Linked DNA regions of Homo sapiens: regions 1 and 2 are each linked to region 3. Evidence: promoter capture Hi-C in human tissues and cell types (Jung and others, 2019). All regions are on one chromosome and are shown on one strand. Each heading gives the region's core, a stretch centred on a gene start or on the middle of the fragment in contact. The rest is flanking DNA. Distances are from core to core; before and after follow the strand shown.

Region 1 (3,578 bases), core at 553-3,052, 240 kb after region 3:
AACTCCTGACCTCAGGTTATCTATCTGCCTTGGCCTCCCAAAGTGCTGGGATGACAGGCATGAGCCGCTGCGCTCAGCCTCTCAGTTCTTTATACAGTGAGATGATAAGTGTAGCTACCTGCTAAGATTGTTATGTGGTCAAGTGAAAATGCTTAAATACCCGGTACCTAGAAAGCACTCAGTAAACATTGGCTCTTACTGTTATAGTTATGAGAGGGTTCTTGAACAGTGATAAGAGGCAAGTCGCGTTTTAGCTAGCTTTAAAGGTTAAGTAGGATTTGAAAAGGCAGAGAGGACTGCGGGGGGAAGTCCCAGGCATGGAGTGTGATGTGAGGAAAGGATGGCAGTCAAAATACAAGGCATATATAGGAAATACTGATGAGAGGGCTTTTGTTGCATAGGGAAGGTTTATGGGGGGATTGATGGGAAAAGAAGCTTGAGGGAAAATTGGGACCAGGCACTGGAAAGTATTAACTGCAAGGCTGTAGAGTTTTAGAAAGAATAATCTGAAAGGTGGATTGTGGGAGAGAAGGGAGAAAATGAAGGCAGGGAACCAAAGAAAGGAAGCTGGACTTCATGGAACTAGATTAAAAAAAATAAGTATGGCCTGTAATCCCAGCTACTCAGGAGGCTGAGGCAGGAGAATTACTTGAACCCGAGAGGCGGATGTTGCAGTGAGCTGAGATCATGCCATTGCACTCCAGCCTGGGCGATAGAGCAAGACTCCGTTTCAATATATATGTATATATAATTTTTGTGCTGTTATATGTACATGATCCCTTTTTCACCAAAATTAAGAATATGTTTAGTGAGAGCCATAAAACTAAAAATGCTTTTGCTAGTTTAAAACTCGGTTTAACCCATCATGATAAAGCAGTTTAATGGTCTGTTTCTAAAACTTCAATTTGATGCTTAGTTTTGATGGCTGTAGAGGTGAAAAGAATAAATTCAGAAAGATTTGTAGCTTCAGATGGAAGAATCACAGTGTCAGTTCTGCTTAGTAACTTGTGATTGATCCAACCTATCAACCATGCTGAATTTTTGTTGTTGAAATGCAGGGTATAGTCTTACAAACTAATCAGGTGGTGGCATTTTATATTTTTAACAAATAGGCTTAAGACCCACCTGAAATTCTTCATTTGAAAGATTTTTAAACAGGTTAGAAAATATTTCCAAGTTTCTTTTTTTTTTCCTTTTTTTTTTTTTTTTTTTTTTGAGATGGAGTCTCACTTTGTTACCCAGGCTGGAGTGCAATGGCGTGATCTCAGTTCACTGCAACCTCAGCCTCCTGGGTTCAAGCGATTCTCCTGCCTCAGTCTCCCAAATAGCTGGGATTACAGGCGCCTGCTACCATGCCCAGCTAATTTTTTGTATTTTTAGTAGAGACGGGGTTTCACGATGATGGCCAAGCTGGTCTTGAACTCCTGACCGCAGGTGGCCCCCTGCTCCCTGCCTCAGCCTCCCAAAGTGCTGGTATTACAGGCATGAGCCACCTCACCCAGCCCCAAGTTTCTAAAATGTGAACATAGATGGGTTTTTCCTGGATACTTGACATCATTTTTGGCAGTTAAATTACATAACAATGGAACCATTTCATACAGCTGTTCCTGTAATTGCCCTTTCTTCACACTTTCTTTAAAGAAGCTGATTACTCATTGGTGACTTTTTCTTTGATTTAGACTGACATTGGTTTTTACCTCCTAATGTGGCTAAAACCTTACTCTAGATAGAAGCTTCATCTGTGCCATTTTCTTCTTGTTCACATCTGTTTATATTATTAGTGTGTCCTGTAATTGCAGTTTCTCTATAAGAATCTTTTTTTTTTTTTTTTTCCTTTTCCTGATAGGGCTTTGCTCTGTCACCCAGGCTGGAATGCAGTGGCGTGATCGTAGCTGACTGCAGCCTCAAACTTCTGGTTTCATGCAATCCTCCCACCTTAGCCTCCTGAGTAGCTGTGACTGCAGACACAGTCCCCATGCCCAGCTAATTTTTTTCTTTTTCATAGGGACAGGGTCTTGCTATGTTGCCCAGGCTGGTCTCAAACTTCTGGCTTCAAGCATCCTCCTGCCTCATCCTCCCAAAGGGCTGGAATTATAGGCATGAGCTACCATATCTGGCCACAAGAATCTTTAAAGCTGCTTGTCTCTTTTATGACAGAGTCTCGCTCTGTGGCCAGGATGGAGTGCAGTGGCGCGATCTCGGCTCACTGCAACCTCCGCCTCCTGGGTTCAAGTGATTCTCCTTCCTCAGCCTCCCAAGTAGCTGGGACTACAGGTGCCCGCCACCGCGCCCAGCTAATTTTTCTATTTTTAGTAGAGACAGGGTTTCACCATGTTGACCAGGATGGTCCCGATCTCCTGACCTCGTGATCCGCACGCCTTGGCCTCCCAAAGTTTTGGGATTATAGGCATGAGCCACTGCGCCCAGCCAAAGCTAGATTTAGAAATCCATTATTTCACATAACTGGTCTCAGATAAACCAGTCTACATCACAATGTCTAAAATGAACAACACCTGTGACAGGTCAGCACAGACTAAGTAAGTGTATTAGTGTCAATTTATAGCTTAATTTCTCTCTCTTTTAAGATACAGACATTCCAATTATTTTCTTTCTGTATCCTTTGCGGATCATCTTGTACTTTGGAAACCACAATTTAACTGCCCAAGTCACTCATAAAAATAGCAAAAGTAGCTGGATGGTACAAAAGTAGGTCCCAGGGCTTCAAATTTGGTTGAATATTGACTCCAGTAGGCAGCCACCTACTACTGAGCAAACCTAACCCTCAGTTATGTCATTTGTAAAACAGCACTTAACAGTTTGGCCGACCTGCTAGGGCTGTTGTAGGGACAAAAGAAGATGGTGCGTGTACTGCTTTAAGCCTGGCACCTGGCACTCTGCTAACATTCAGCTCTCTGGGCTGGGCACTGTTAATGCTCCATTTCGTAACCTGCTGTCAACCTGCAGGTAAATCACTCTGACTCCAAGCAAACACCCTGAGGGTGGAGTCGGCCTGTTTGAGGTTTCTGTTTGCAAATCTTGATATATGAAGTGACAGTGGAGATTGTACAGTTTTTTCCTCGATTTGTCAGGATTTTTTTTTTTTTGACGGAGTTTAACTTCTTGTCTCCCAGGTAGGAAGTGCAGTGGCGTAATCTCGGCTCACTACAACCTCCACCTCCTGGGTTCAAGCGTTTCTCCTGCCTCAGCTTTCCGAGTAGCTGGGATTACAGGCGCCTGCCACCATGCCCTGCTGACTTTTGTATTTTTAGTAGAGACGGGGTTTCACCATGTTGGCCAGGCTGGTCTTGAACTCCTGACCGCAGGCGATTGGCCTGCCTCGGCCTCCCAAAGTGCTGAGATTACAGGCGTGAGCCACCACCCCCGGCCTCAGGAGCGTTCTGATAGTGCCTCGATGTGCTGCCTCCTATAAAGTGTTAGCAGCACAGATCACTTTTTGTAAAGGTACGTACTAATGACTTTTTTTTTATACTTCAGGAATAGTAAAGAAACACATCATAAAACCTCCCAGGACATAAAGGTGAGCACAGACCCTGTTTGGATCAAGTCAGTTCCTGGAG
Region 2 (3,613 bases), core at 842-3,341, 140 kb before region 3:
TCGTTATCTGCCCACCTCGGCTTCTGAAAGTGCTGGGATTACAGGCGTGAGCCACTATGCTCAGCTGATCTCGTTCCTTTTTATGGCTGCATAGTATCCCATGGTGTATATGTACCACATTTTCTTTATTCAGTCCGTAATTGATGGGTGTTTAGGTTAATTTCATATCTTTGCTATTGTGAGTAGTACTGCAGTGAACATATGTGTGCATGTGTCTTTATGATTTATATTCCTCTGGATATATACCCAGTAATGGGATTGCTGGGCCAAATGGTATTTCTGTCTTTAGATCTTTGAGGAATTGCCACACTATTTTCCATAATGGTTGAACTAATTCACACTCCCACCGACAGTGTATAAGTGTTTATTTTTCTCCACAACCTTGCCACACCTGTTATTTTTTGACTCTTTATTAATAGCCATTCTGACTGGTGTTAGATGGTATCTTATTGTGGTTTTGATTTGCACTTCTCTAGTAATCAGTGATGTTAAGCTTTTTTTTTATATGATTGTCGTCCACATGTATGTCTTCTTTTGAAAAATGTCTGTTCATGTCCATTGCCCATTTTTTAATTTTTTTTTCTTGTACATTTAAGTTCTTTATAGATGTTGGCTATTAGACCTTTGTTGGATGTATAGTTTGCATTTCTTTTCCCCAGTCTGTGTTCTTGGCACCTTTGTCAAAAATGAGTTCACTGTAGATGTGTAGATTTGTTACTGGGGTCTCTATTCTGTTCCATTGGTCTATGTGTCTGTTTTTATACCAGTACCAGGCTGTTTTGGTTACTATAGCTCTGTAGTATACTTTGAAGTCAGGTAAATGTGTTTCCTCCAGTTTTGTTCTTTTTGCTGATGTTAGCTTTGGCTCTTCTTGGTCTTTTGTGAATCCATACAAATTTTAGGATTAAAAAAATATTTCTGTGAAGAATGTCATTGGTATTTTGATAGGGATTGCATTGAATCCATATATTGCTTTGGGTATTGTGGGCATTTTTAACAATATTGATTCTTGAAATATATAAACATGGAATATCTTTCTATGTTTTTGTGTCCTCTTCAATTTCTTTCATCGGTGTTTTATAGTTTTCATTGTAGAGATCTTTCACTTCTTTGATTAAGTTAATTCCTAGGTATTTAATTTTATTTGTGGCTATTGATTTTATTTCAGATTGTTCCTTGCTGGCATATAGAAGTGCTACCAATTTTGTACGTTGATTTTGTATCCTGCAAATTTACTGAATTTGTTTATCAGTTCTAATAGTTCTTTGGTGGAGTCTTTAGGTTTTTAAAATATCATTTGGAAGTCATATGGAAATATCATTTAGAAATCATTTCCAAATACCATTTAGAAACCATTTGAGTGTTTTCTTACTTCCTGGCACAAAAAGTGTCCTGGGCTCATCTTGAACATTTTTAGTCCTAGCCCTGGCATCAGCTATTTCTCTAACGAGCTCTGGTTCCCTTCAGTGGAAAATGATATTCATAAGCCAAGATCTAGGCACTAAGTATACTCATTGCTATTGAAATGTCATTGTTATCTAGCCCTATCAGTGAAGTAGGGAATATATGTTTTATACACACACACACACACACACACACACACACACACACACACATGCATGCTCACACATACAAACACATATATTTACATCTAATTATCTATCAACTATCTATTATCTATCTATCATCTGTCTATCTATCCATCTATCTATCTAGAAAAGTATGAATGTACACTGATACATCCATTCCAATCTAACACCATAGGATTAATGCTAGCTTTCTCCCTTTCTGAATCTATGACTCTTTTCTGCAAAAGTGACACACCTAGCTTCCAGTATACTTTATTTACTTATGTGATCAATCCCTTCTATGTAGCCAACTCTCACCCATCCCTTCCCACTCAGGGATACCCTCCTCACCTCACGTGGGTTCTCCAGGCCCTATTTAGGCTCTGGCTGCTCTTGAAGGCCACACCTCTGTGTGGACCCCTTCTCTGATTGCTTGGGCTCCCGCTTCCAGGTCAGGCTGCCCCTCCATGTGGATGCCTTCCCCAGCACACTTGGAATCTGACTTGGAGCCACCATGACTCTCTTGTCCACCTTAATGTGTGGCTACCACATGGCTGCAACCCACCTAATGGCTTTAGTATTCAGAAAAGGAGGGAAAATGAAAGAATAAAAAAGGAAAATGAATAGTGCTTTTAGACATGCTGCCCAATCAACTGACGAATTGACAATTTTTTATTCAGTGTTCATTGCATTAAGACAATTGGGAGGTGAAGATGGAATGCAAGACGTATAAGAAAACATGTTTCCTGTGTTCCAGAAATGTCAGGGGAGATGTGGTAAAAATAATAAATCATAACTAATAATATGATAAGTGCTTCGTTGAGTGTTACAAAAAATATGTTCTTCAAAGAAGGCAGAATGAAACTATGAATATTTTCTCCAAACAATGGGCAAAGTCACAGCAGATTAACTCTCACCTATGTTAATAATCAAATTGGAATTCTGACAAAGGCCCCACACCAACAGTGATTACAATGATAAAAAATGTTTATTTGCTGGTTTTCAGTCATTCAGTTCTATAGATTTCTCTTTAGTGTGCAGGATGGCATCAGATAATATTTTTGTAAAGGGGATTTTATCACTTCGCTTAATATAAAACTTATAGAATATTACAAATAAAACGTGATATAAATGTCACTATTAGAGTCATCATGATAATTCTTATTTTTCTTAAAAGTTATGGATCAAATTGTTGAGAAATATTTATTCTCTGATGAGAGCTCAGGAGGAGTTGATAATGCTAACTAGAGGTGGGTAGAGGTAGTCCTATGAGAAGCAGAGAAGCTGAGTCTACCTATCTGTCACTTACCTGGTCACCTCCTTTATACTACATAATGCACAACACTCTACACAGACTCTGGGAGAGCTCAATGAATGTACAAAATCACCAACTACTCATGCAGTACATTAGATTAAGCCCATCTTTATTTCAAGGTTTTATTGACTAAGTTGAAATCTCTGGTGTTCTGGGGCACAGCTTTCTTGAAGACCAAAGTAGAAATCCTTAGAATAACTCATTCTCCACTTAGGGTTCCATCTCTTGAATCCACCTTTAGAACAATGGGTTTTTCTGGTTGAAGAAGTCCTTGCGTGTCTAATTTCAAGGGGATCTACAATAGTTAAACAAGCATATGGAGAATTAATAAATGAAGTGAAAGAAGAAAAGATGGAAGCAAAGTAGAAAAAATATGACAAAAATGCTTTGCAAGCATATAAAAACGACTCTTAACACCATGTATCTTGAACTCTTCATACTTAATCTATAAGCTGGGTAAATACTGGATAGTAAAAGCACTCACCATCCATCGTTTAACAAAATATTTATGGAGCACTGACTCTGTGCCAGGCCTGAGACAAATTCTTGTGGACTCGTGTTTTTTTTTTTTTATTTAAATCTTAAGTTAAAAGGATGAGTTTTAAAAATTAAATCCAGATTAGTAGGTATTATGGCAAACTATTTTGGAAGTGCTATATAAAGTTAAATTTTTATAGGTTAAAACTTGCAAGGTAATCCTGAGTAGCTGTTGTACAGTTTAATTATGTGG
Region 3 (3,852 bases), core at 822-3,321:
TTGTTGTCACAGCCATGGCAAATAAATGACACTAATCTCTGCTTCTAAACTTTCTACAAGTTACATGACCTCTCAGGCCAGGACAAACTATTGAGTTAATGTGTCAGCAGCATTGGTCCCCAAGGAATGATCTAGGTGAATGTCTAGACTCACATGGTTCCGTGTCAAGGCAGAGGCTAGGCTGGGCAAACTGTGTAGTTTCTTTCCAGCTCCCCTCTGTTTGGTAGAGTAATGCTGCTTTTGGTTCCAATGAAGAGGCTAACAGAAAAGCCAGTCATCTATTGCACTTAATTGTGTTGGCCTAAGGAGGGCATTGTCTGCACTACAGTTTCTGACTCCTGGGCTGCATCAGCATCATCTAAGGCTAAGGTATTGTCTGCCCAGCTGCCTGAGTCTGTAGTGACCACCCCACAACATGGCAGACCACACACAGAGTGACACAGATGGTGCCTCTGTGTCCAGGCTTCAAGCAGATGAGATGCAAACATGTTTGTCCTTTGAGTGACCTCCACTACGGGGCCAGGACCCATGAATATCTCTTTGGAGTTCTACCCTGAGGGATGAGGAATATTTTCTTACTCCATTTTGATCCTACCTGGATGCTTTTGCTGTCATCACTGGCTCACAGTCTTGCTTACTCCTCTGCCCTGAGCGTTTAACATAACCTGCTAAGCAGGTTTGTTTGAAATAGGGGTATTAAAATGAACGTTGGGAAGGTATATTTTAAAAGATATATGCAATCTTGTCATAGAGTTATACATTTGTGCATTAGATTCATATTCCTGACATGATTCTGGAAAGGTGAGGTTATTTTACACACATTTATTGTAACAAATACTGAACTAACAGCCCTCATTTGTCACCTAGAAGGAACATGTTGGAAATAGACTATCTCCAAAAAAATCTGGTTTAAAATAGAATGAATTTAAGCCATATCAATTAGTGTTAAAAGGTCAGAAGATGGAAAATATGTTGCCACAACTCACTGAATTTCTAACCTTTCTGTGAAAGAATTAAAATGAGGTTTATATTTTCTATTTTCCTGTCATTATGATTCCCAAATCTTAGTAAGAGTGAAATTGAGGTAGAAGTGAAATGTGACATGTGAGAAGCCTCCACTACCCACAGTGGGGAGTGACTCTTCTCTCTACCTGCTCTAGGATGGCAGGATCCCACCAGTGAGAGGATTCATCCTCTTCTACTGCAACATAAAGGGGAAAATGTAAAATCCAAATTCTAGTTTAGTAAGGAGAAGCCAGGTTTCCACAGCCAAGTTTGGAATGAGATCCGTCACTACTTTCCTTCCTTATCCTCCTTGGGTCCAAACTATTGTCAAGTAGATCATCCTCAATCAATGCTATCCCAAAACCCTTCTTGCCACTAAAGATGGATGGGGAAGATGCTTATTTATTCCTTTATAGAGCTGCATAAGATCTACAATAACCTCTATATGTTTGTAGCATCCAACACTTAAGCTACTGCTCCTTGAACATCTTTTTTTTTTTTTTTTTTTTTTGAGACAGCCTCACTCTGTCACCCAGGCTGAAGTGCACTGGCATGATCTCAGCTCACTGCAACCTCCGCCTGCCGGGTTCAAGCAATTCTCCTGCCTCAGCCTCCCAAGTAGCTGGGAATACAGGCGTGCACCACCATGCCCAGCTAATTTTTGTATTTTTAGTAGAGACAGAGTTTCACCATGTTAGCCAGGCTGGTCTTGAACTCCTGACCTCAGGCAGTCCACTTGCCTTAGCCTCCCAAAGTGCTGGGATTACAGGTGTAAGCCACCACGCCCGGCCTGAACATCTTTTTTGATCTTCAAAACAGATAAGGGAAAGAGAGGCCTGATTAGCACCCCAAGTCCAAGGAAACAGAGAAGAGGAGCCTGGACAGTTACTCACAGATAGAGGAGCACCAGGCTGACAGCCAGGAGAAGCCAGGTTTCCATGGCCAAGTCTGGGATGAGAGCCATCACTACTTTCCTTACTTATCTCTCTCCTCTGAGTCTTCCTTTCAGCTCTGTGTTGCTCTTTGCTGGGCTATGTGCATGGAGCTTTCCTGCCCTGCACAGCAGTGATTCAGTGAGGCTGTTGGATTGTTTATATGCTAGAGAAGGAGGCAGGGCTGGAGCTGCAGCCAGTAGCAGGGCCACCTGTGCTCTGCCTGCAGTTGGAAGAGGCTTCTCCACCTTGGAAGTTGGCAAAGAATCACACACACACCACTCACTGACCTCCTTTGAGTTCATATTCTATGAGGTATCATAAACAACTCAATCAATGTTACTGGGGAGTCCAAGGGTTCTGGGTTCTTATCAGAAACTCAAGTGGAGCCATTGGCATAAAATCTATTAAATCGCCTCTCTCCTGCCCTTGTCTCTATGGCTGTCCTCATTCCAAAATACTTGAAATTCATCCCAACAAGCCACACCTACAGATCTTTACCTATGCCTGGAGTGTGCCTGTGCCCCCTAGAAGACTCCTACACATCCTTCCAAACCCAGACAGACAGAGCCTTCTCTTAGAGTCTTTCCTCACCAAACTCCTCACACAGATGTAACCATTTCCTCCCCTGGGCACTTTCCATCCCCTTCATGCAATCCTATTGTCCTCTTTCCTCTTTACCACCATTGTGTTTCCACGCCTGTTTCCCTGAACAGAGGTGAGCTCCTCAAGGGCATAGTCTAGTCTTATTCCCTGTCATGGCTCTGGTCCCTACCAGGGTGCTGTACACACAGTGGGCAACTAGAAAGGCTGGTGGAGTTGACTTAGCTGAGATTGCTGGGCCTCTGCATGTCATCCCTTCTGACTTTCTGGTGACTTCTTAGGTCATTAATACAGCCAGAGCTCTTGGCTGTGCCTCAGCTGCTGTCTCTGCACTTTCAGGCTGGTCCTCTGTGATTCTGTTGGCAAGGGGACCCCTAAAGGAGAGACAGGGCATGGATGAGATGGAGCTGATGGCTTGGTGGAATAGTATCAATTTGTGCTGCTTCCTGTGAACCCTTCAAAGGTCCTGCCATAGATAGCAAGTTAGACAGGTTCTTTGCCAAAGAGTGGCCCCTTCTCTCTGGAAATACTGCATGTCTGGAAACAGGAGAGAAAGGAGAGAAGAGAACAGCTGCCCAGATAGCCAGATGGACCCCAACCACCTCAGCCAGCAATGATGGGGCAGTGGTCACTGCAGGTCACACAGCATCAAGGACTCCAATAAGATGGTCCCAGCCTCTTGGGGGTGGAATTGGAGTTCAAAGCAAATGGCTTCCTTTTTGACAAGTGGAGGATTTTCTAATGGGAGGAGGGCAGGCCCCAGGAGCTGGTAGAGATGAGGCCTGTAATAGCAGTTGCTGCCACCTGTGAGCTCCCTGACCCATTCCTGATGGGAGAGATCTCAGTGATGAGGGTGTGAAAATTATATCAGCTCATTATCGTCACTCACACCCAAGTTCTGTGTCTGCCTGGCCTGATGAATGGATTGCATGACAAACAAAATCACAGCGTTCTTAAAACTCAATAGAAATAGGCGATGTTTAAGCTGTGCTTGTTCGCTTCCTTCTCTCTTTATTCTTTCTCACATTCAGCCCTCCTGCAGAAACTGATACTCACCCCAGAAAGACACCTTTTCCCATCCCTCTGGCCCCTAAGCCTCCAGGGCTGCTCGGCACCTGGCCTGAGTGGGTGAACATCATGCCAGATTCCTTGTCAGATTCAAGGCCAAGTGGGTGAATGTCATGTGCAGTGTTGTGCCAGGTGTGTGCCGGGAGCCACATGTTCCTTGGGGACAGCCTAGTGAAGCAGGAGACAAATAAACATGCTTGGATGGTGGTATGCATGTGCTGTAACTCTGGAATCCCTGGGATAA

The links. The method cuts DNA at HindIII sites, captures the fragments that hold promoters and counts their contacts. A contact is called where the count stands out against the background at its distance.
Region 1: a fragment that was not itself captured here is called in contact with the fragment with the promoter of CYP3A4 in region 3 in 1 of the 25 tissues and cell types used here (pancreas).
Region 2: a fragment that was not itself captured here is called in contact with the fragment with the promoter of CYP3A4 in region 3 in 2 of the 25 tissues and cell types used here (heart left ventricle and mesendoderm cells).

The regions. Positions count from the first base shown.
Region 1 is chr7:100,019,924-100,023,501 of GRCh38, forward strand. It overlaps ZKSCAN1 (zinc finger with KRAB and SCAN domains 1), which reads left to right. Exons shown (of 6, transcript NM_003439.4): 2 at 3,496-3,578. Among named protein-coding and RNA genes, the nearest start is that of ZKSCAN1, 6.1 kb to the left of the region's middle. The HindIII fragment of the contact is 5,144 bases long and covers 1-3,578 here.
Region 2 is chr7:99,645,223-99,648,835 of GRCh38, forward strand. It overlaps CYP3A5 (cytochrome P450 family 3 subfamily A member 5), which reads right to left. Exons shown (of 13, transcript NM_000777.5): 13 at 2,972-3,178. The coding sequence ends at 3,083. It also overlaps a transcript of ZSCAN25 not described here. Among named protein-coding and RNA genes, the nearest start is that of ZSCAN25, 30 kb to the left of the region's middle. The HindIII fragment of the contact is 7,540 bases long and covers 1-3,613 here.
Region 3 is chr7:99,782,113-99,785,964 of GRCh38, forward strand. It overlaps CYP3A4 (cytochrome P450 family 3 subfamily A member 4), which reads right to left and starts at 2,072. Exons shown (of 13, transcript NM_017460.6): 1 at 1,899-2,072. The coding sequence starts at 1,969. RefSeq lists promoters at 2,020-3,324, 2,020-2,434, 2,022-3,852, 2,067-3,852, a silencer at 2,143-2,200 and an enhancer at 2,221-2,244. The HindIII fragment of the contact is 10,602 bases long and covers 1-3,852 here.